Linked DNA regions of Homo sapiens: all the other regions are linked to region 6. The links are contacts of gene promoters, found by promoter capture Hi-C in blood cells and fetal thymus (Javierre and others, 2016). All regions are on one chromosome and are shown on one strand. The core of a region is centred on a gene start or on the middle of the fragment in contact, and the rest is flanking DNA. Distances in the headings are between cores, read along the strand shown.

What was found. The method cuts DNA at HindIII sites, captures the fragments that hold promoters and counts their contacts. A CHiCAGO score of 5 or more calls a contact.
Region 1: a fragment that was not itself captured here is called in contact with the fragment with the promoter of CT75 in region 6 in 8 of 17 cell types (M1 macrophages, monocytes, erythroblasts and 5 more); the score reaches 8.9 in M1 macrophages.
Region 2: a contact is called between a fragment that was not itself captured here and the fragment with the promoter of CT75 in region 6, in 1 of 17 cell types (M2 macrophages). The highest score is 5.8, in M2 macrophages.
Region 3: a contact is called between a fragment that was not itself captured here and the fragment with the promoter of CT75 in region 6, in 3 of 17 cell types (monocytes, M1 macrophages and M0 macrophages). The highest score is 6.3, in monocytes.
Region 4: a contact is called between a fragment that was not itself captured here and the fragment with the promoter of CT75 in region 6, in 8 of 17 cell types (megakaryocytes, M0 macrophages, M1 macrophages and 5 more). The highest score is 11.7, in megakaryocytes.
Region 5: a contact is called between a fragment that was not itself captured here and the fragment with the promoter of CT75 in region 6, in 3 of 17 cell types (M1 macrophages, M0 macrophages and megakaryocytes). The highest score is 7.7, in M1 macrophages.
Region 7: a contact is called between a fragment that was not itself captured here and the fragment with the promoter of CT75 in region 6, in 1 of 17 cell types (M2 macrophages). The highest score is 5.4, in M2 macrophages.

What each region holds. Positions count from the first base shown.
Region 1 is chr2:222,638,042-222,641,041 of GRCh38, forward strand. FARSB (phenylalanyl-tRNA synthetase subunit beta) reads right to left here. Exons shown (of 17, transcript NM_005687.5): 4 at 2,821-2,890; 5 at 1,539-1,654. Among named protein-coding and RNA genes, the nearest start is that of FARSB, 17 kb to the right of the region's middle. RefSeq lists a silencer at 206-353. The HindIII fragment of the contact is 1,322 bases long and covers 839-2,160 here.
Region 2 is chr2:222,053,172-222,056,034 of GRCh38, forward strand. No RefSeq gene overlaps it. Among named protein-coding and RNA genes, the nearest start is that of CCDC140, 240 kb to the right of the region's middle. RefSeq lists an enhancer at 1-440. The HindIII fragment of the contact is 2,456 bases long and covers 381-2,836 here.
Region 3 is chr2:222,668,039-222,670,947 of GRCh38, forward strand. LOC124907985 (a long non-coding RNA gene) reads left to right here. Exons shown (of 2, transcript XR_007088095.1): 2 at 2,598-2,909. Among named protein-coding and RNA genes, the nearest start is that of MOGAT1, 2.2 kb to the right of the region's middle. The HindIII fragment of the contact is 273 bases long and covers 1,125-1,397 here.
Region 4 is chr2:222,621,614-222,624,500 of GRCh38, forward strand. It overlaps FARSB (phenylalanyl-tRNA synthetase subunit beta), which reads right to left. Exons shown (of 17, transcript NM_005687.5): 12 at 2,659-2,866; 13 at 2,037-2,117. Among named protein-coding and RNA genes, the nearest start is that of FARSB, 33 kb to the right of the region's middle. The HindIII fragment of the contact is 476 bases long and covers 1,385-1,860 here.
Region 5 is chr2:222,597,843-222,600,618 of GRCh38, forward strand. It overlaps FARSB (phenylalanyl-tRNA synthetase subunit beta), which reads right to left. Exons shown (of 17, transcript NM_005687.5): 16 at 2,086-2,241. Among named protein-coding and RNA genes, the nearest start is that of FARSB, 57 kb to the right of the region's middle. The HindIII fragment of the contact is 2,494 bases long and covers 58-2,551 here.
Region 6 is chr2:222,316,999-222,319,769 of GRCh38, forward strand. CT75 (cancer/testis associated transcript 75) reads left to right here and starts at 1,473. Exons shown (of 4, transcript NR_136642.1): 1 at 1,473-2,372. It overlaps RNF228 (ring finger protein 228), which reads right to left. Exons shown (of 1, transcript NM_001395871.1): 1 at 1-2,771. The coding sequence ends at 2,030. RefSeq lists enhancers at 1,166-1,761, 1,538-1,587 and a silencer at 2,058-2,387. The HindIII fragment of the contact is 3,961 bases long and covers 1,229-2,771 here.
Region 7 is chr2:222,580,766-222,583,465 of GRCh38, forward strand. All of the region lies in intron 16 of FARSB (phenylalanyl-tRNA synthetase subunit beta), which reads right to left. Among named protein-coding and RNA genes, the nearest start is that of FARSB, 74 kb to the right of the region's middle. The HindIII fragment of the contact is 5,883 bases long and covers 1-2,700 here.

The DNA of each region.
Region 1 (3,000 bases), core at 250-2,749, 320 kb after region 6:
AAGGAAAAAAAAGAGAGAAGACAGAGGAATGAAAGAGGTGACATCACTACAGATACCACAGATATTAAAAGGATAATAAAGAAACATTATGAACAACTTTGTCAATAAATTTAATAACTTAGACAATATCGATATATCCCTTGAAATACGTAAACTTCCAAAGCTCATTAAAGAGGTTAATTAGGATTTACTGACAGAAAAGAACTCTGGCACACCAAAGTATTAGGATGTGTTCAATTCTTCCCCTTAGAAAAAGCTCATGATTTCCAGAAATACCAAATAAAACAGAGCTTAAAGTTAAATTAAGTAAGAAAATGTCTGTTTAGATTAAAATAACTTCTTAAAATAAACAGATAATAGAGCCAGAGCAGATAATCTGGCTCAACCACTTAAGTTATACCTATACTTGTCAGAAATCTTGTATTTTGTTCTTAATTTTGAAATTATATTTAAATTGTTATTGTTTTGCTTAATAATGACATATTAGCAAGCTGACATATAAACTCTTTTATATACAAGGACTGGGAATAAATGCTATTTGGAATCTGAAAAAAATGTTGCTACTACCACATGGACAAAGATGTTTTTCACCACAGCAGAAAATGTCTACGGTTCTCCCTCTATCCTGTCCCTAGCCCATCCCATACACATAAACCCCTCCTAGGCTCTACAGTTTACTAAACTACAATTATTAGCAAATAGCTGCAGCAGATCTCACACAAAAAAATAAATAAAAATTCTTTTTCTATTTTTATTTGAGACATATATAACTATCAATCATACCTTTGGATCAACATGCAGTAACTTATGCTGATCTATTTCAGAACCAACACAAATAAGCTTAATATGTTAGGCTAAAGTCTGAGGTTTCTCATCATCAGTAAGTATACAGTTTCCATTAGGATTTTGAAATACTTAAATTTGTTCAAGGATTCCCGTTGTTACCTTCACTGACCTTTAAGAGTTCAGAAATTATACAGGTGTGAAGATTATTGCCCTAAAGGAGCTGTGCAGGAAATTATGCATAGTAATGTAAAGACTGAATAAGTAAAATTTAGTCATTTAAACTCAAGTTCTGTCAATTTATAATTACTCTCACTCAAAAAGTGAGAATAAGCCAAAATGTTATTTCCATTTTAAAAATGATATATCATACTTCATTAACACGGTTTATACTTAGTAGCATAATCCACGACTGATCTGAACCAAAACAACAACAACAAAAAGCAGGGAAGTCTCTAGGACTAGATAATTCTTCTCTATACAGTATTCAAAATATACCTCCTGTTTCTCCATGCATATGGCATTTACAAGCAGTAAAAGGTATCTGGTAAAGCAAAGTGAAATTCTCATATTCTGTCACATACTATTAATTTAGAAATGATTTGTAAAAAATCTGCAGAGGAAGAAAGGAAGGAGAGAGAGAGAAAGAAGGCAGAAGTGGCAAGAGAGAAGAGGGAGAGGGATCAGGATGGAAAGGAGATAGGGAGACAAAGGGAAAGGGGAAGGCAAGGAAGAAAGAAAATGCAACCACAAACCTGCAAATATTCTGATGTAATTTCTCCTGAAGTTCAATGAAGCTGTCATATCGATCTTTAGTAAACTTTATATTACGGAGAACTGCTGCTACCGCAAAAGGACGTATCTTAGCTGTCTGAAATTCATAATATCATTAGAGATAGCAAACAGTAAGGCTTTTCTTTGTAATATCTTGTAATAGGAAGGTAGCTGCATTCTTGCCACTGGCATACATTTTCATTCAAACAAGTATATATTAATTTATTCAGTCAACAAGTAATAAAGTGGTAAACAAGAGAAAAAGTCACTACCTTCACAGAATTTATATTTCAGTAAGATTTCTGAAAATGTATTAAATAATTGAGAAAAAGTTTGCTCATAATTCATATATTTACCAAACAACCCCTCTGAAAAGTTTAAAATCTTTTAAAATTTCATTAATGTTCCACAATTTAAACAATTATATCTCAAATGTGTTTTAAACATGCATTGGATATTATTATCCAAAATTATTTATGGAAAGCAAAGGCTTTGTTCTTTTTCATTCCTAGGTTAAAAAAAAATGTTTTTTTAAGGGCTAGGGGCTAAGTATATAATCATTTTAGCAAATGATCAAAGAAAATCACATTTTTTAGAAGGGTAAGCTTTGGACCAGGCACAGAGGCTCACAGCTATAATCCCAGCACTTTAGGAGGCTGTAGGGGAAGGATCCTTTGAGCTCAGGAATTTGAGAGCAGCCTGGGCAACATAGTGAAACCCCATTTCTAAACAATACAAAAAATTAGCTGGGTGTGGTGGCGTGTGCCTGTACTCCCAAATACTCAAGAAGCTGCAGGGGAAGGATCCTTTGAGCTCAGGAATTTGAGACTAGCCTGGGCAACATGGTGAAAACCCATTTCTAAAAAATACAAAAAATTAGCCAGGTGTGGTGGCGTGTGTCTGTACTCCCAAATACTCAAGAAGCTGCAGGGGAAGTATCCTTTGAGCTCAGGAATGAGACCAGCCTGGGCAACATGGTGAAACCCCATTTCTAAAAAATACAAAAAACTAGCCGGGTGTGGTGGCGTGTGCCTGTACTCCCAAATACTCAGGAGGCTGAGGTGGGAGGATCACTTGAGCCTGGGAAGCAGAGGTTGCAGTGAGCCAAGACTGCACCACTGCATTCCAGTCTGGGCAAAAGAGCCAGACCCTGTCTCAAAACAAAAAAAAAAGAGTAAGCTTTGTTTCTCTTTCCTCCCCACTTTATACAGACATGTACAAAAGAAAATTTTTAAAAGAAAAATAAGAATTTGTCCTTATTACCTCTTCTGTGATAATCAATTTCTGGATTTTTCCATCAGGCATTACCCGTTTATACACTGGAGCCTTTATCCTAAAATAATATTTAAATGAATTTACTCATAATTAATCAAGACATTATATAAAATAATTACATTCTATGCTGTATATAGGAAGTATACAAAATGAATTAGGGCAATGGGT
Region 2 (2,863 bases), core at 359-2,858, 260 kb before region 6:
GGAGCAGAAATAGGCAATGATTCCAGAAGAGGGGAGTTCCAGGAAGCAGCCAGGAGGGAGGGGTGGGAACTCTGATTGCATCCTGGAGCGAGCAACTCATAAAACCCCGAACCCTGCCTCCAAGGCTTTGCCCCAAGGAGCTTCTTAAAACAGAGCCAGAATTCACTTCATTTAAAAGAATAGCTCAGCATGTAGCCACTAACTCCCTCTAGCAGAGGAAGCCCCTTGTTTCTCCCTGAAGAATGCAATGAAGGTTGAGCTTCTATCTTGCCAATTACCCCATAATTAGAACAGCTGATGGCATACTGAAGGGGGTGCGTGTGTAAGTGTGCATGCCTGTGTGTTTTGGGAGAGGAAAATCACTCTTCACCCAAAAAGAAAGCTTGAAAGGATGATGCCCATAATTTGTTCATTATCACCAACCCACTCCTTTGTAGGGCAACATGCTTTGAGTTCGGAAGTAAATCTAGATCCAGTCCTATGCATAGGTACCTTTGTAAAGAGGACATGAAGCCAGGTATTTTAGATTGAATTCTGGTTTCTCAAGTAATGTTTAGAAATGAAGAACTCCCTTCCCATTTAACTTCCTTTAACAACAGTCTGTGCCTGCAATGCCAAACTCTCAGTTTTAAATATTTAGTCCTGCTGAACCTGCATTTATTTGTTTTTATTTTTATTTTTATTTTGAGACAGGGGTCTCACTGTGTTGCCCAGGCTCGTCTCAAACTCCTGATCTCAAATGATCCTTCCACCTCAGCCTCCAAGAAGCTGAGACTACAGGCATGAGCCACCACAGCCAGCTAGACCCACATTTTTTAAAAAAAATTATTTATTTTGCTCATCCTTTAGACAATACTTTTTTTTTTAATTTGGTGTGTGTGTGTGTTATTATACTTTAAATTCTGGAATACATGTGCAGAACGTGCAGGTTTGTTACATAGGCATACATGTGCCATGGTGGTTTGCTGCACCTATCAACCCATCATCTAGCTTTTAAGCCCCACATGCATTAGGTATTTATGCCAATGCTCTCCCTCCTCTTGCGCCCCAACCTCTGACAGGCCCTGGTGTGTGATGTTCCCCTCCCTGTGTCCATGAATTCTCCCTGTTACACTCCCACTTATGCGTCAGAACATGTGGTGTTTGGTTTTCTGTTCCTGTGTTAGTTTGCTGAGAATACGTATGTTTATTGCAGCACTGTTTACAATAGCAAAGACTTGGAACCAACCCAAATGCCCATCAGTGATAGACTGGATAAAGAAAATGTGGCACATACACACCATGGAATACTATGCAGCCATAAAAAAGAATGGGTTCATGTCCTTTGCAGGTACATGGATGAAGCTAGACCTACATTTATCAGATAATTGTGAAGGCAGCCGAAGAATCTTGTCCCCATAAACATGCTTTCTCTCCTAGAGATCTCCAGTACCTCATGAGCTATAGAATATACATGATTTCTAATTATATATAAAGCCAGAAAAATATTGAAATGTGATGATATGCTTTTGGAGGGGCATTTAAAATCTTATGAACTCCCAATTGACAAAGGAAAAATGACCCATACTTAAATTTGACTTCTTTCCTAGTGTTTTTTCTAGTCTTTTCCATGGTTTTTTTTTTTCAGGATTTTTGAATAAGACATTTCAGTCTTTGTAATAAAACCATCAACAGTATCTCAATCCAAATTTCTAACAGTTTACATTCTTAGGAATGTGTGCTTTATTAGACTCATAAACAGTAATAATCGTGATTGCTACAATTTCGTGAATGCTGGTTCTATGCTGGAAACTGTACTAGGTGCATTCTATGGTCTATTGCTAATCCTTAATCACCACCCTGTTTGGCAGATGCTATCATTCCCATATTAGAGAGTAAGATAAAGTTAAACAAGGACTAGAGCTATTTCCCTAAGGGGGAGATGAGGCATTAACCATGCCTTTTCGGTTAATTCCACAAGTAAATAATACTAGATACTCAGTGTCATCATCTCTACAGATTTATTGCCTTCCTTCTGTGGACCAACCTCTTTTCTAGATGTTCATAAACATTGGCTTATTTAATCCTTGCAAAAGTCTCAAGAGATGCCTCTAATTCTCACCAGGGTGGGGGTGAGAAAACTGAAAATCAGCGATATGCTCAGAAATGGCAAAGTTAAGAACCTAACACAGATTTTTTTATGTCAATTTCAATGCCTTTCCACTAAAATCCGATTGCATCCCAGACAAACAAAAATAAGAAAGTCATACTCACTTTTGTAATGTGGCAGGAGCAGCCTGTTTACTGCTGTGCCTTCACTGTCAAAAGCATGCCTGAACTTTTCCCAGCAGGCAGCTGAAAGTGTAGCGGAATTATCAAAGGGGTGCCATTAGCAAGAACTCTGTTCGAATCTGCTGCGATGCAATAGCTTAAGGGAGTGGGTTGTTTATCCCTTAAGGGAACTTAAGGGAGTGGGTTGTTTATCCCTTAACACTTGTTTCTCTATCAGCCAAATGGACATTCTTACCTGTCTCCTCATCATCTTTGGAAATTAAACTCCATGAGGGCAGGGACTTTGTTTATCTTGTTCACTCCTCTTTTCTCAAATGTTTAAAACATACAATACACTTAAAATATTTTTGTAGGGAAAAAGAACATGATTCACAGGTTTTGTAAAGATCAGATGAGTTCATATGTATGAATGTTCTGTTTATTCTTTCTCCCTCCCATCTGAGAGATTAACCTTCAAATTAGGTTAGCTTAGTCTTGTAAACTAGATCTGTCTACACATCTAGATATGGATCCTTCTTGACTTCTAAAAAGCCTTATCTTTTAAGTACAGTTGGAGAATGCCTAAAGCTTTGGGATTTTTAAGATTCAGTGA
Region 3 (2,909 bases), core at 11-2,510, 350 kb after region 6:
CCATGACCTTTGCCCTAAACTATCCCCTGTAAGGACTCTGTCTAGACAGAATACTAACAGAATACTATTTCCTTTTTAACCTAACAATGAGAACATTTTTACTTAAGTTACAGTAAAACGTCATGTTATAGAAAGACATTGTCACCTTTCTACTAGTAGATGTTAGTTATAGTAAAGTGCACAGGAAGAAATAATTAGAACAAGGAAATGATTTCTTATTTCTCAATTCCAAGAGTAGCCTTTCATAATTGTTGAGACAATCTGGCCTGTGACCTTATTTCTTCATCAGAGTTGAGAAGTAGAAAGAGGAACCATACCCATCAGTGGAATCCCAGATCTTCAAAGGGACTGTGTTGGTTCCTTCCCCAGGACTTGCCACAGCTGTGGTGCTTGGTACATTTTCATTGAATTATTGTAAACATATATATGTATTATTCACTCATATTTAGCCAATTCCAGGCCCATAGGAACAAAGCTGACACTTCTGCCAAATGTATTTTTCTTTAATCATTTGCTAAAATATTTGTTGACTGAATGGATAACTACACCTCAACCCAAATGACAGGTTCAGTCATCAGCACTCTTCTACTTACCCTTCAATGACTTGTTCCTCTGTTGTGACAACACTCCCTTTCTTCCTTATATTATTTGAGAAACAGCCTAGTATAGCAGTTAGGCTCTGGAATCTTAGGTTCATTTAGAATTGTTTTGAATAGCTTGATGAATTAAAACTTTCCCACTATGTAAATCCAGTGATCACTTAACTCAAGTAACTTGGCACACAATATGTAAACAAATAAATACATGTTGAATGTCAAAAGGATGAGCAAATAATTTAATTGTTGATTAAAATGGTGATGGACTGTTGCATTGACTGAGTGCTGGTGAGTCCATGCTTTGTTTCAGTTGGCTGTGATGGCTGTGACAGGATATGACAGTTCTTATCTATCAGCTTAGTGTTCTGGGAAAGTAACAAATACATTACTAAGCAAGCAAACTCCAAGTGATCAGGATCAGGAGTTCTCGGTGTTTTGCTCTTCTTTACCGACAGATTCGAAATCCAATGAATCAAAGAGTCCTACCATTTATATGTCCCATGCATATCTCAAGTCTATATTTTCCCAAGCTTCCACATCCTCTACAATCATCCTACAATAGCCTTCTTAGGGGATATGCCTACTTCCACTCTTGCTACCTCCAATCTGTTCTAAATAGGTGCCCATTATTCTGTATCAGCCTATGTGTTTCCTTCAGGGCACTGTCACACATTTGGTTGTCTACATAGGTAGGTATTTTCTGTTTCTCCCACTAGACTGTGAGCTGCAGCAGGACAAAGACTTTTCTTATTCACCATTGTAACTCATCTCCTTTCCCTACCCAGTGCCTAATACATAGAAAGCTTTCCACAAATAGTCAATAAGTAAATGTGTGTAAATTCTCAAAGGCACAGAGACCTCATCTTAATTCACGTTTGTGTCATCAGTACCAAGGACAATGCCCAAGGCAATGCAGGCACTCCATAAATGTTTGTTCTATGTTTGGTTCAGTTGATGAAGGGATGACTCGCCTCTCCAGGTTTTATAGAAATTTGAATCTTCTCTATTCTGCCATTTACCAGCTGTGTGACTTTAAGCCCTAATTTCCTCAGCTGCAAAGTTGAAGTGAATGCGTACTTTGTAGGGTTTTTGAGATTACGCCTGTGAGGTCTCTGCAGAGTGCCTGACATAGGGTGTGTTCGTAGTGTCCCCACCTAGCACTGGGGGAAGATTCAAGGAAGAAATCTAAAAGGAAAGAAGAAAGTGACTCCTTAAGTAGGAGGAAAAAGAAACCCAAACAAGTTTTGCATACAAAAAATCACAAACAACTCCTCCAAGTGGCCCTGGTATTTGTTTTAATCCAACTCCCTTTGTATTAAAATGTTGAAGGAGAAAAGGGCATAGGATGGGGGAGAAAGGAGGGCCAACTATATTGTTTTGCCCTGTTCCAAGTCCTCTTCAGCAATGACTTGACAGCTGCTCATCATTTTGAGTTTTTCAACTATGTGGTAATTAATATTTATAAATAAAGTGCAGTGGTTGCTCCCAAGGACTAGGCACTATTTAGAATCTAGCCATCCATTTAGCACATCGTAATTGAAACCCTTCAGTGTCTTGTACTGCTCTTGGGGTTCAAACTTGAACCCTAACTCAGTCTGCAAGGGTCTGGACCTTGCCCACCATTTTTGCCTGATGTCACCCCAATCTCACCCTTGTCCCCCAAGCTCTCACTCTTTGAGCTCTTCTTGGAGTTCAGCCACAGGACCTTTGCATATGTGCTTCCCTTTGCCCGGATGACTCCTGGGTTAACTAGATTTGGCTACAGCTCAAGTAAGGGCACTTCTTCAGACACTTCCCTGACCGTGCAGCAGTCTTGGTTTTGGAATCTTCTAGTCATTCACAGTAGGGTCTTACTTGTAATTATACACCAAATTGTGTAGTTGTTTTGCTTATGTCTGTTTCCCCCTGTACTCTGAGAACAAGACAATGAATAGCTTGTGTCAGGCCTCTGAGCCAAAGCTCAGCCATTATAACCTCTGTGACCTGCATGTACACATCCAGGTGGCCTGCAGGAGCCAAGAAGCCTGGAGCAGCCAAAAAAAACGCAAAGAAGTAAAACAGCCAGTTCCTGCCTTAACTGATTAACCAACATTACAACATTTTACCATTGTGACTTGTCCCTGCCCTACCTTAGCCGATCAATCGACTTTGTGACATTCTTCTTCTGGACAATGAGTCTTATGATCTCCCCACCCTGTACCTTGTGACCCCTTCCTCTGCTAACAATAGATAACCACCTTCTACTGTAATTTTCCATTACCTAGACAACTCCTATAAAGCAACCCCTTCCCCATCTCCCTTCGCTGACTCTTT
Region 4 (2,887 bases), core at 373-2,872, 300 kb after region 6:
ATTCCTATAACAAGGCTGAAGTACATAAGCCAACTTAAAAGTGAGCCAATTTAAAAGAAAATATTACAACTACTATGCAGATATAGCAAAAATCAATATGATGAAGTGTGAATTATTTACACTTAGAAAGTCAGAGACTAGGCTTAAAAAAATGGCTGTTACTCTTGTGCAAAACTGGATTTAACAACATAGACCATCTTTGCTCAGCGATGCTTAGGCTTGCCTATAAACATCTTTATAAACATCTTTAATGTTGAAATTCCTACAGGAAAATTTAGTACAAATCTGAAACCCTCTAGGAGCTCACTCCTTTCTCTTCCCCCCAGTGATAAACATTGAATGTATTAAAGTGACTTTGGACAGCTAAACAGACTGTTTCTAACATCCCTGGTGTGACAGTTCAGTCACAGGCCTTGGATGCAGACAGGCATGGGCGGGAATCCCTGATCCACAGCCATGGCGTAGGACAAGTTACTTAAATTAACTGCTGTGAAAGACAGGAATGCCCACTTCACAGGAGTATACTGAGAAGAAATGGAATCATGTACACAAAGCCCTTGGCACAGGGTAAACATTCCCTGCAGAGCAGCCACTAGTCAAGACTCGGCCTCTGTGCTCCTTCGAAGACACATGAGGCTCTAAGGTCACAAAATCAAACTGGCAATGGATATTGTAATAAGTATAAAGTATAAGTATAAAAAGGATAAAGTAATAAGTAACTTTTTTCAAACTGGCACCACTAATATAAAAGGGCAGGGAAAAATGCATACCCAAGTTTTAACAGCAGTTGTTTCTGGGGAGGAAAAGAGGATTCGAAGTGGGGAAAAGAACTGTTATGGTTTAATCTACATGGTTAAAGTATGAGTCCTTTAAAATAAGATGTATTCCTGTGACACTCATATGTTTTAAAAAATAAAAATATATTTTTCAATGTTATTTTTGGTACTTCATTTTATATGAAATCCTGGATGCTCACAACTACAAATGTGTGTATATATATGTGCAAAGATGAATGACATGGCATTACAGACCTAGTGTACACGGTATGAGACCATGGAAAAGCACTGTTCTAGGAGGCTAAAGGTCAGGACCCTGCTCATGATATAATGAGATCATGCAGGTATGGTGGCCTGGAACACAGCAGTTCTCCTGCTGTCCGTGTAAAATGTGCTACGTACTTATCCTCTCTCAGCCTCAGGCTTCCTCATTGGTGCAGTGCCTGACATATAATAAATGCTCAACAAATGTTGAATGAATGACTCCTGAATCAGAAAAATCTTAATGCTTAATATTTATTAAGCAAACTAGAAGTAGAGTCCCTTAAATACTCTAAAATATTGAGAATTTCAGAGGTAGGGCTAAGTTGCAGGGGAGAAAAAGAAGAAGCTTCCTTTCCCCTCATAGATTAAACATACTTGAATGCTCAAGAACTACATTGCAGGCACCACAGAAATGCTCAGCAAGAGGGAAAAACGGAACTACAAATTGCATACACATTTTATTCTTTCAAATGGTCAATCTGGTGGGGGAGGGAAATTTCCTTCTGATTTTGTAATAAAAGTCATTTCCTGATTTAGGCCTTTTATGTCAGCTTTTCAACTCAAAGCAAATGTTTGTGAACATGTTCAAAGACAAAGAAATTAATTTAATGTGGAACAGTCCACAAGCCTTTACCCAGGACGGCATCTAGTGGGCACAGCCATAACCAAATTAAGACCAAATATTCTAACTTAATAAATTTGGTTATGAAATACATTGTGAACTCTCAACACTCACATGAAACTATAAAATACTTTGTCATCTCTCATTTGAGGTATTTTTTTCTAGGCCTTCATTTTCTTTTGTGGCTGTAAAAACAAAAGCTTCAACATTACTTTACCAGGAATTGTATAATCTCAAGTAACAAAGTTATTCTTCCAGAATCTGGAAGTTCTAACAGTCTAGATTTTATAAATTCTTATAAAGCATCATAGAATAAATAATTCAGAGAGTCTAAGTAAATAATCATCTGGGCAGAAAAAGCATGTAAGACATACCAGGGCAAAGGTAAGTGCTTCAGTGAAGCCAGCGGCTGCCATGTCATGTCGGAGAAGTTCAGTGAGCTTATTAAGAGGAAACTGAAAAAAAAAGCATCCACTTGATTTCACCGCAATTATTTCTTGTTTTTTAAAAGGGAGATTTATACAGAACATGCCATTAAAACTTTTTTAAATAAAAATGTTTAAAAGATTAAAAACCTTTTCACCCTTACTAACGTACTGCTAATGCCACTATTTCCCTATCAATATTACCTCCTCCCTCCCCACCGCTCTGCCACCCCTCTGCTCCTACACAGATGTACAAACCACCCCCACTTCCATCTCTCCCACACACAGCTTCTGCCTTCAGGCCCAAGTTGAGAAAATGAATCTCTGAGAGATTCAACAAGGGCTCCAAACTCAAAACTTGTCTTTCTTCAAAGAACTAGTCATCACAGGTTTTCAACTTACTCTAATCATTTGGGCATCTGTTTTGTATCCTCTCCACAGCAAATGCCTCTCATTGCAGAGCATGTCCAAATACTGCTTGATTCCTACGTTCTGTTTTCTCGAAGCCTTCCTGGCATTAAATAATCAGTTTCTAACAATAAGGAGTGTTTATTTAAGGGTGCAATCTTACTTGATTAGCTATGGTGTAAGTTTTCGGGAGAGTCATCTGAATGTTGTTATATCCATAAGCAATAGCTGCATCTTCTACAATATCACATGCATGGATAATGTCAGCTCTGGTTGGAGGGATTTCAATCTCAATCTGATTCCCATCACCTATGACTTCTGATTTTAAATACATCCTGGTCAGAAGTTTGGCAAGATTTTCTGGAGTTTCTCTGAAAAAGGAATGAACAAAC
Region 5 (2,776 bases), core at 55-2,554, 280 kb after region 6:
TCCTTTTAAAGTACAGATCTAATATCACCTACCTGCTTTAAAAGAAGAAAAAAAAGAAGCTTTAATGCTTTTCTCCTAACTAGCTGCAGCCTTTCCCTAGCATTCAAGACTCCAAATATAGTTTCAAGCTCCTTCCTCACCCTATAGCCAAACCACACTACACTGTCTGCTGTGTTTCCAAACATACAGCCTGTGTTTCCTATCATTAGTTTGCCTTGCTTCCCCTGTCTCCACCTATTCTTCCAAAGGCCCATCTCACTTTGCAGAAACTCCCTATTGTTTTTCTGGATGCCCTGAAGAAGTTGCACTTTCTTCCTCTTCGGAAACATCAAGACAATCATTTTAACATCTTGGTTTGAGGGTCGGTATGTGGTGGTCTTTTCCCTGGCTGGTTGCTTGACAGCAGCACCTGTGTCCTACTTATCATTGTCTTTTCTGAAGTCTGCCTTATAACTAGGAACTCACACTCTTCTGATAAATAAATATCTAAGGAACTGATTGAAGCAGGAGAAGTCACAATATTAAGATACCAGTTTACAGAAATATTATCCATCTAAAGGTTACACAAAGCATCACATCCACCACAAGCTATGCTCTCATTTACCATTTCAGCTCTTTGCAACCTTTCAAGTATGAAAGAAATTGGACCTCACGTTCAGGACGCAATCTGCATCAAATTTTTATCTAGCTAAACTGTTTAAGAAATAAGATTTCTGAGAAGATTGTGCATGGAAGGAAAAGAAATGCTTCACATCAGCTTACAGGTTGCCATAAGCCTGGATGACCTGGTCTTAAAGCAAAATTCTAGGATGGTAAACTGGTGAATGAGTATATACAGGCACTAAAAAGGCAGACAACACTGGCAAGGATACTGGGAGGCAGAAGCTGTGGGGTCAACATGCATGACCCGGCTCCGGCTTCTTTAACTTGCCTAACCCCAGTTCCCTCACTCATAAAACCGGGCTCGTGGGCTGGATGAACTCCAAAATCCAGTTCTAACATCTAGAACTCCACAAGCATAACAATGTCTGCATTTTATTATTTCTCATGGAAAGTGGGTAAGAAACAACTTCCTGCTTATTTAATCTCTCATTTATTTAAAAAAAAAAAAAGAACCACACACATCTTCAATCTAAAAAAACCCATAGATTTCAGGGTTATTTTCAAAGGAGTCTCAAAATGAAAACAAAAACAAAAATTAAACAACCACCAACAAAAACAATCCCTGAGGACTAATAAATAAAAGAAAAAAACATATTACCCCACCAAATCTCATTACTAACTGTTAAATAACACTTTAAAAGTAAATGTTCTGTTAGAAATTTAAGATGCCAAATAGAGTTATAAAGCACAGTGAGGTAAACGGTAGGAATAAGTGGTGAAATATTTCTCTCAAGTTGTTTCTGGACCTTTCATCTAACAAAATAAATTTAGATTGAAGCTGCAGAAATATGAAAAGCAAAAATTTCAGAGTTCCTTGGATAATGAGAAACTATTAATAGAATATTAGGAGCACATATATACCATTTAGTTAGCCTAGCTTAAACTCTCCAACAAAGATTTTACTGTACTTGGGATTTTATACACGAGGATTCCCACCCTTGCTCTGCAAACTTTATGACTTGATTAACATGTGTGAAATCTTTCAGAATAACTTCTGAGGTTTTTGTTTTTGTTTTCTTTTTTCTTTTGTCTTAAAGCCATCAGACAGGCAGCTTTTGAGTGCAAACCATCACTTTAGGTCTTACCAGCTTCCAGTTAAAACTTCTGGGTTCACCATGTGCTGATGGCTTAAAGGTGCCAGTGATTTAGCCATTTTGATGGCTTAAAGGTGCCAGTAACTAGGGGTTACAGCTCAGTTGGAACGAAAGTATACTGTGCAGCACTTACGAGAGTTCTGAAAAGTGTTTTCTTAAAATGCTGGAGGGAAAGGGGATATTTTCTGGATAATATTGACAATTAATTGAAATAAAACTCTCCCTTTCTTTCTAAAATCCCAAATCAAAACTACCAACTTCATCAAAAACAAGGTGTAGCCTCTTCCTGACACTGTCACTAACTCTGGATTCGGCTCATCTGTCTTACCTTCTGATGCTTTGATCACATATCCCCCCTTGTCTTCACCAGGAGGCACATCGAGCAACTGCATAATTCTGTCCAGCAGCCCATGAATGATCTCAAACCCAGGATTCTTGTTGTAATAAACAGCACAGAGATGTCTGTAGTTTTTTGCACCTACATCTAGAAAAATAAAGGAACTGGTCACAACGCTGTATTAACCATTGCTTAAGAAACTGATTTACCCCAGTACAAACTTAGAAAAAGTCAACAAAAAAGAAAACCAAATATTAAACATTCAGAGAAGGATTCAACCTCACAAATGCAAAATAAGATAAAATAGTCTTTTTTCAGCTCATCAAATTCCCTAAGGTGTTTTATTTGGGGGAAAGAGTGAAAAACCCTCAATGCTGACCAGGGAAAATAAGGCTTCACTGAGGTATAAGTTGGTAAAATTCTTTGTAAACAATTTACCAATATATCAGAGCCTTAAAGCTTCATACTCTCTTATTCATAATATTAATACTACCCAAAGGAAATAATCCTAAATTCAAAAAGGCTTTATGTAGAAAGACATTTACTACAACATTATTTCCAATAGTAAAATTATAAACAACCTATATTAGGGATGGCTACATAAAGTACAGTGCAATCACTCATCAGGATACTAAGCGGCTATTAGAAAGCATCTTTATGATGGTTTATCATAACACAGCAA
Region 6 (2,771 bases), core at 223-2,722:
TAAGTTACTTCTCTCTTCAGAATACAACAGATCTCACTGGGCCTTCCAGGGTCATTATTCCTAGAAATAATCCCACTAAATGCCCATCTTAGCAACGCACATTTCCATGTGTGAGTTATTTCTCTCTCAGCCCCATTTAAAAATGTGAAATTTGGATTTAGAAGGGGACATGTATTTAAGGAAGAGAAGTGCCACACAAATAATGGAGCAATTTTACCATGAAATTAATGTCATGAAAATAGATATTTCTATAAATACCTCTTGTTTTTATTATTAAGACAATGCAGACATAAAACACTTCATACTGTAGTTTCTACATTGCAGCCAAACCACTTATCAATGGCCAATAAATTACTTCACTCCTATGATAGATACAAATGCTCGATTCAAGTTCAATTAATAGAATAGTGTCAGGATATCATGCAGACAGCTTGCATAAATACTCGAGGAATAATAGCATACCTTCAGTAGATTCTGTGATTTTTAAGCATGAAAACTTTGTCTTATTCCAAATTTCAAAAGATGGAATAAAGAATGTTTTCATATAAAATACATTTGGAACAGTTTTCCTTCTTAAAAAAAAAGGCATCTAACCCACTTGCAACATATACTGGCAATTCATCTTTGTAGTTACAAAATCAGATAGATATATATTCTTTTTCATCTCATGTGACTGTATGTGAACATTTCAGTAATTCCAACAATATCAAACAGCTAAATTCAAAATCATATAATACTTTCTAATAAGTGTATACGATATATATCTTTTGTAGCCAAAGGCAGAAAGACCTTCAGTTAGTTGATTTCATGTTTGGGCACTAGTTTATATTTTATCAGATAATTAAAAGTCATTAGTTATTTCACAGTATAAAATATTGAATCAATTACCAACAGGCTTTTATTTTCTGCTCCTAATTTCGAAATGTATTTGGACTCGAGGTATGGGAATAATGTCACTGCTTATCAAACAATTTTCTGGAAATCTTAATGCACAAAAATTTCCAGATTTATATATTCAAAAATAAATTATATGTTAAATGAAATTAAGAAAAAAAGGCGAGGGGAAGGAGAAAATCTAGTTTATATTCTGTGTGAATAGCTTTCAATATCTTCCAGGTGGGGGCAACCGTAAGCCACTTTTGAGAGAAGGGAGAACAGGCTCTTTAAGCTCCCTGAGTCTAGTTACAGAAGACTTCCTGGCAGTAACACCGTGAATAAAACAACCACAAGCTTCCAGGAGATGAGACTTCTAGGCTCTGCTCCAGACAACACCCGGCCATGGGCAACAGGGCCCACCGCCCTGGGCGCGCCGCAGCCTCGGCCACTCCGAGTCGGCTCCGATCGCGCACGCGCGCCGTGCACCTGCCCCATCGCGCCCAGCTGCTGCCTGAGCTCCGGGCACGCCCGCGCTGTGCCGGCGGGGAGTGTCCGTCACTCTCAGCGCTCAGGATCTCTCCCTTTCCAGGACCGCTAGGAAGCAGGAAATCCTTTTCCTCTCACGTTTACATCCCATTCATTCTTCCTCCGGGCAATTCAAGTCCATTCACAGCCGCCACAGATGCACGTGTGCACGCGCGCAGCTGCACCTTTAAAGAAACTCTCAAGTCCTGGCGGCCAGAAAACCAGCTTTCAGGCGGGGCGGTGGGGCTCCCCCTCCCCTTGCTTCGTCTCTGCAGATCTTTGTGCTCTAGGGAGGGATGGCCGCACATTCTGACGAGGACGAGGGTGGTGCATAACGCGGAGGTCAATTTTGCACAGTCCAGGCAAAAGAGACCCCCCCCCCCCACCAACATCCCTTCCTGTTCAGTTTCCCTCTCTGGCCCAGCGCGAAGGGCGAGGGGCGACAGAAGCCCGAGGGACAGAAAACCGAGGCTCCTCAGTGGCCGAGTTGGGAGAGAGTGTGAGTCCAGGAGAGCCCGGGGGCAGCAGGGAGAGGGTGCAGAAGCTCGAGCGCACCGAGCCAGAGGCCCCCTCTTCTCCCGCCACGCGGGGCTGGAGGTGCAGGCGCCGGTTCCGCGGCGTGGCCCGGCTATGTGTCGCTCCTCCGCGCGCCGCCCGCCGCAGCCCGTGCCCTCGGGCCGCCGCCGCCGCCGCTGCCCCCCGTCGAGCCCGCGGCCGCACCCTCGGGCCGATACTTGAGCCAGCAGATGACCCAGGTGACAACGACCGAGAAGAGTGCCAGGATGCTGGCCACCGACAGGCAGATGGGCCCCACGGGCGAGGGCGAGGGCGACCCGGTGGCCGGTGCCTCGCCAGGGGGCGCCCCGCCTCCGGGGGTTCCCCCGCCGCCGTAGTGGTTGACGAAGATGAGGCCGGTGAAGAGCAGCACCACCATGGAGAGGAAGGAGAAGACCACGCACACGCAGCCAGCGGTGAGCGCCGCGCGCTTGCAGTTCTGGCAGCTGTCGTAGGCGCCCGGGGCGCGCAGGCCGGGGCGGGCTCGAGGCCCGGGGGCCGCGTCCTCGGCAGGCGGCGGCGGCGGCGGCTGCGGTGGGGCGGGGGAGGGCGGCGGTGGCGGGGCCGGGGTGGGCGGCGGGGCAGCAGCGGGCGCGGGCAGGCGCGCGGGCAGCGGCGGGAGGCGGTCCTGGGGCAGCGGGTCGTGCGCTGCGCGCAAAGCCAGCGGGAAGGCCTCGGCTAGCTTGGTGTTGTTGGGCAGGCCGTGCACGCGGCTGTCGGGCAGCGGCGTGCGGTGGCGGCACACCGGGCACGCGATGGCGCCGGGCGGGCAGAGCCAGGGCGGCGGGCGCGGCGGGCGCTCAGGCGCGGCGGCA
Region 7 (2,700 bases), core at 183-2,682, 260 kb after region 6:
GAATGCAATTCACAAACTAAGGGACTTTAGGGATTATGAGAGTGACTAGAAACCTTTATCTCCTGAAAGGTGAGCGACAAAATATAGTGACTCGGAAGGGGGAAAATGAGGGTTCTGGTTCTTGGAAGGGGAGAAGTAGAGGAAAGTACAACTATAACACAAAAAACCCTACAAGACAGGAAGGGCCAGGGGGTCTTGAGACATTTTACTTGGCCTCATAAGACCCTCAGCAAGAAGATCACATTCCTGACCCACAGCCCACATGAGCCAACAGGTGCTCAGATGTATTTCCAAGGTTGCCCAAGTCACCCAAATGAATGACAGCATTCATTTCTCAAAAAGCCCAAGGTTAGGCCACAGCTATTCAACCCCAGTGTAAAACAAAATAATTGGTCAAAGTAAAAACCACAACTGAGACTTCAGTAAAGTTAACGGGCCTCCTGTCATTTTTATGAAGGTATTGGGAATACTTTAAATGAATGTCAATCTGTTGGATTTCTGCAATGATGTAATATATATATAGAAGAGTAATTTAAGCTAAAAAGCAGAAAGGAGTCTCTCAAAAAAGGAATAATATGGGAGAGAAGAAATGTGCTGACAGATGAATGAAACTGGAGAAGACAGATCTCTAATGGATGTTCTGTTATGTTTCTGCATCCCCACTGCCCCAAAAGTCCATAGTAAAAGAAACATTTCCAATTTTTAAACAAAGCAGACTATGGATTAACATATTTTTAAAAATCAGAGCAAGCATTTAGTTATTAAAGGTTTCTAGAATCTTGCTTGTTAGAAATAAATACAGGAAATGTCAAAAAAGTGGTTTTTCAACAATTTTCTAATTTCCTAGATAAACCATAATAGATATGCTATTAGCTTCTGAGCAGTTGGAGTCAAAAGACAGTTGACAAACTGAAAAAACAGCATATGTATATCACGAAGGGTTGACAGCCACACTACATAGAAGGTTCCTAAAACTAGAGAAGATTGACAAACCTAAAGAAATAAGGAAGAAGACAGGTGGATCACAGAAAAGGAAATAAAAATGTCCTTGTAAACATGTAAATATGTTACATTTGCTCACGGCAAGGGAAATTCAATTAAAACTACAGTGAGACACCATTTCCCATCTGAAAGACTGGCAAAGACAAGAAGTCTGGTGACCATGGCTGTGGAGAAATAAGTCCTCTCAAGTGTTGCTGCAGCGTTTGTACAACGTTGGAACTAGAAATCCTATGGAGGGGTGTTTGGCAGTGTCTAGTGAAAATATGAATTTATTTACTTTGTCCCAGTGATCCCATACTTCTAGGAATCTGTCCCAGAGATACAGTGGCATTACCAAATAACATATGCACAAGACTATTCTCTGTAACACAATCTGTAATAGCAAAAGATTGGAAACAACTCAATGTTAATCAACAGGAAATTAGTTGATTACACTGTGGAACTCCATAAAATGAAGTACCCCAGAGAAGTCAAAAGAAAGGAGGAAGATCTCTATATGCTGCTACAGAATCATCTCCAATGTAGGCTGTCAGGTAAAACAAAGAAAGGTACAGAACAGTGTGTAAAGTATCAGCCCCTCAGCTGAAAGAGTAGAAGAGAATATGAACACACACACACAGGTGTGTGCACACATACATCAGAAGGATAAACTGAAAACTAATAAAAATCATAACCTATAGAGGCAGGGAGGGAACGGTGTGGAAGCCAGAGTTCTCTCTACGTCCCTTATTTATAGCCTATATTCTAAGTACAAAAAGTAATAAGGATAAATTTTAAGCTGCTTTCAATAATCATATTGTTGATAATAGTATTTTTATTTTGAAACTATGATAGATAAATAGATAAACAGAATGAGCAAACAAGCAATAATGTAAATTCGGGCGCAGTGGCTCACGCCTGTAACCCCAGCACTTTGGGAGGCCGAGGAAGGCAGATCACTTGAGGTCAGGAGTCAAGACCAGCCTGGCCAACATGACGAAACCCCATCTCTACTAAAAATACAAAAAATTAGTCGGGTGTGGTGGCAGGCACCTGTAATCCCAGCTACTCGGGAGGCTGAGGCAGGAGAATTGCTTGAACTCAGGAGGCAGAGGTTGCAGTGAGCCGAGATCACGCCACTGCACTCCAGCCTGGCAGACAGAGCAAGACTATGTCTCCAAAAGAAAAAAAAAAAAAGAGCAATAATGTAAATTCACTAGGAACCAAGATTCTCACTAAAGAAAAAGAGATAAACTAACACAGGAACAGAAAACCAAACACTGCATGTTCTCACTCATAAGAGGGAGTTGAACAACAAGAACACATGGACACAGGGAGGGGAACATGTTAAAAGCAAACTGAAGCCAGCTTCAAGGGACTCCTGCTGGCCAAACTGGGGACAATTTGAGCATCAAAATAAATGACTGTAATGGATCTAAATACACTGACTAAAATCAGCAGCAATGAGTCCATACTGACATAACTAAGTATATAGGAAAACTGATTAGAAACAGTATATTTACATAATTTCAAAGCTCTTCCCCCACAAGACATTTATTAATTATAATGGAGAAAAGAATAACTTTACAGTACAGATGACTGGTAGCTACAACCTTAATTAAGTGATTACAGTGAACATTATCAGTTATTGGATAAATGAAAATTGCGTGCCACTTCATAGCATGCATTGGGAAGTTAGCATTACTTCTCTACCATTCC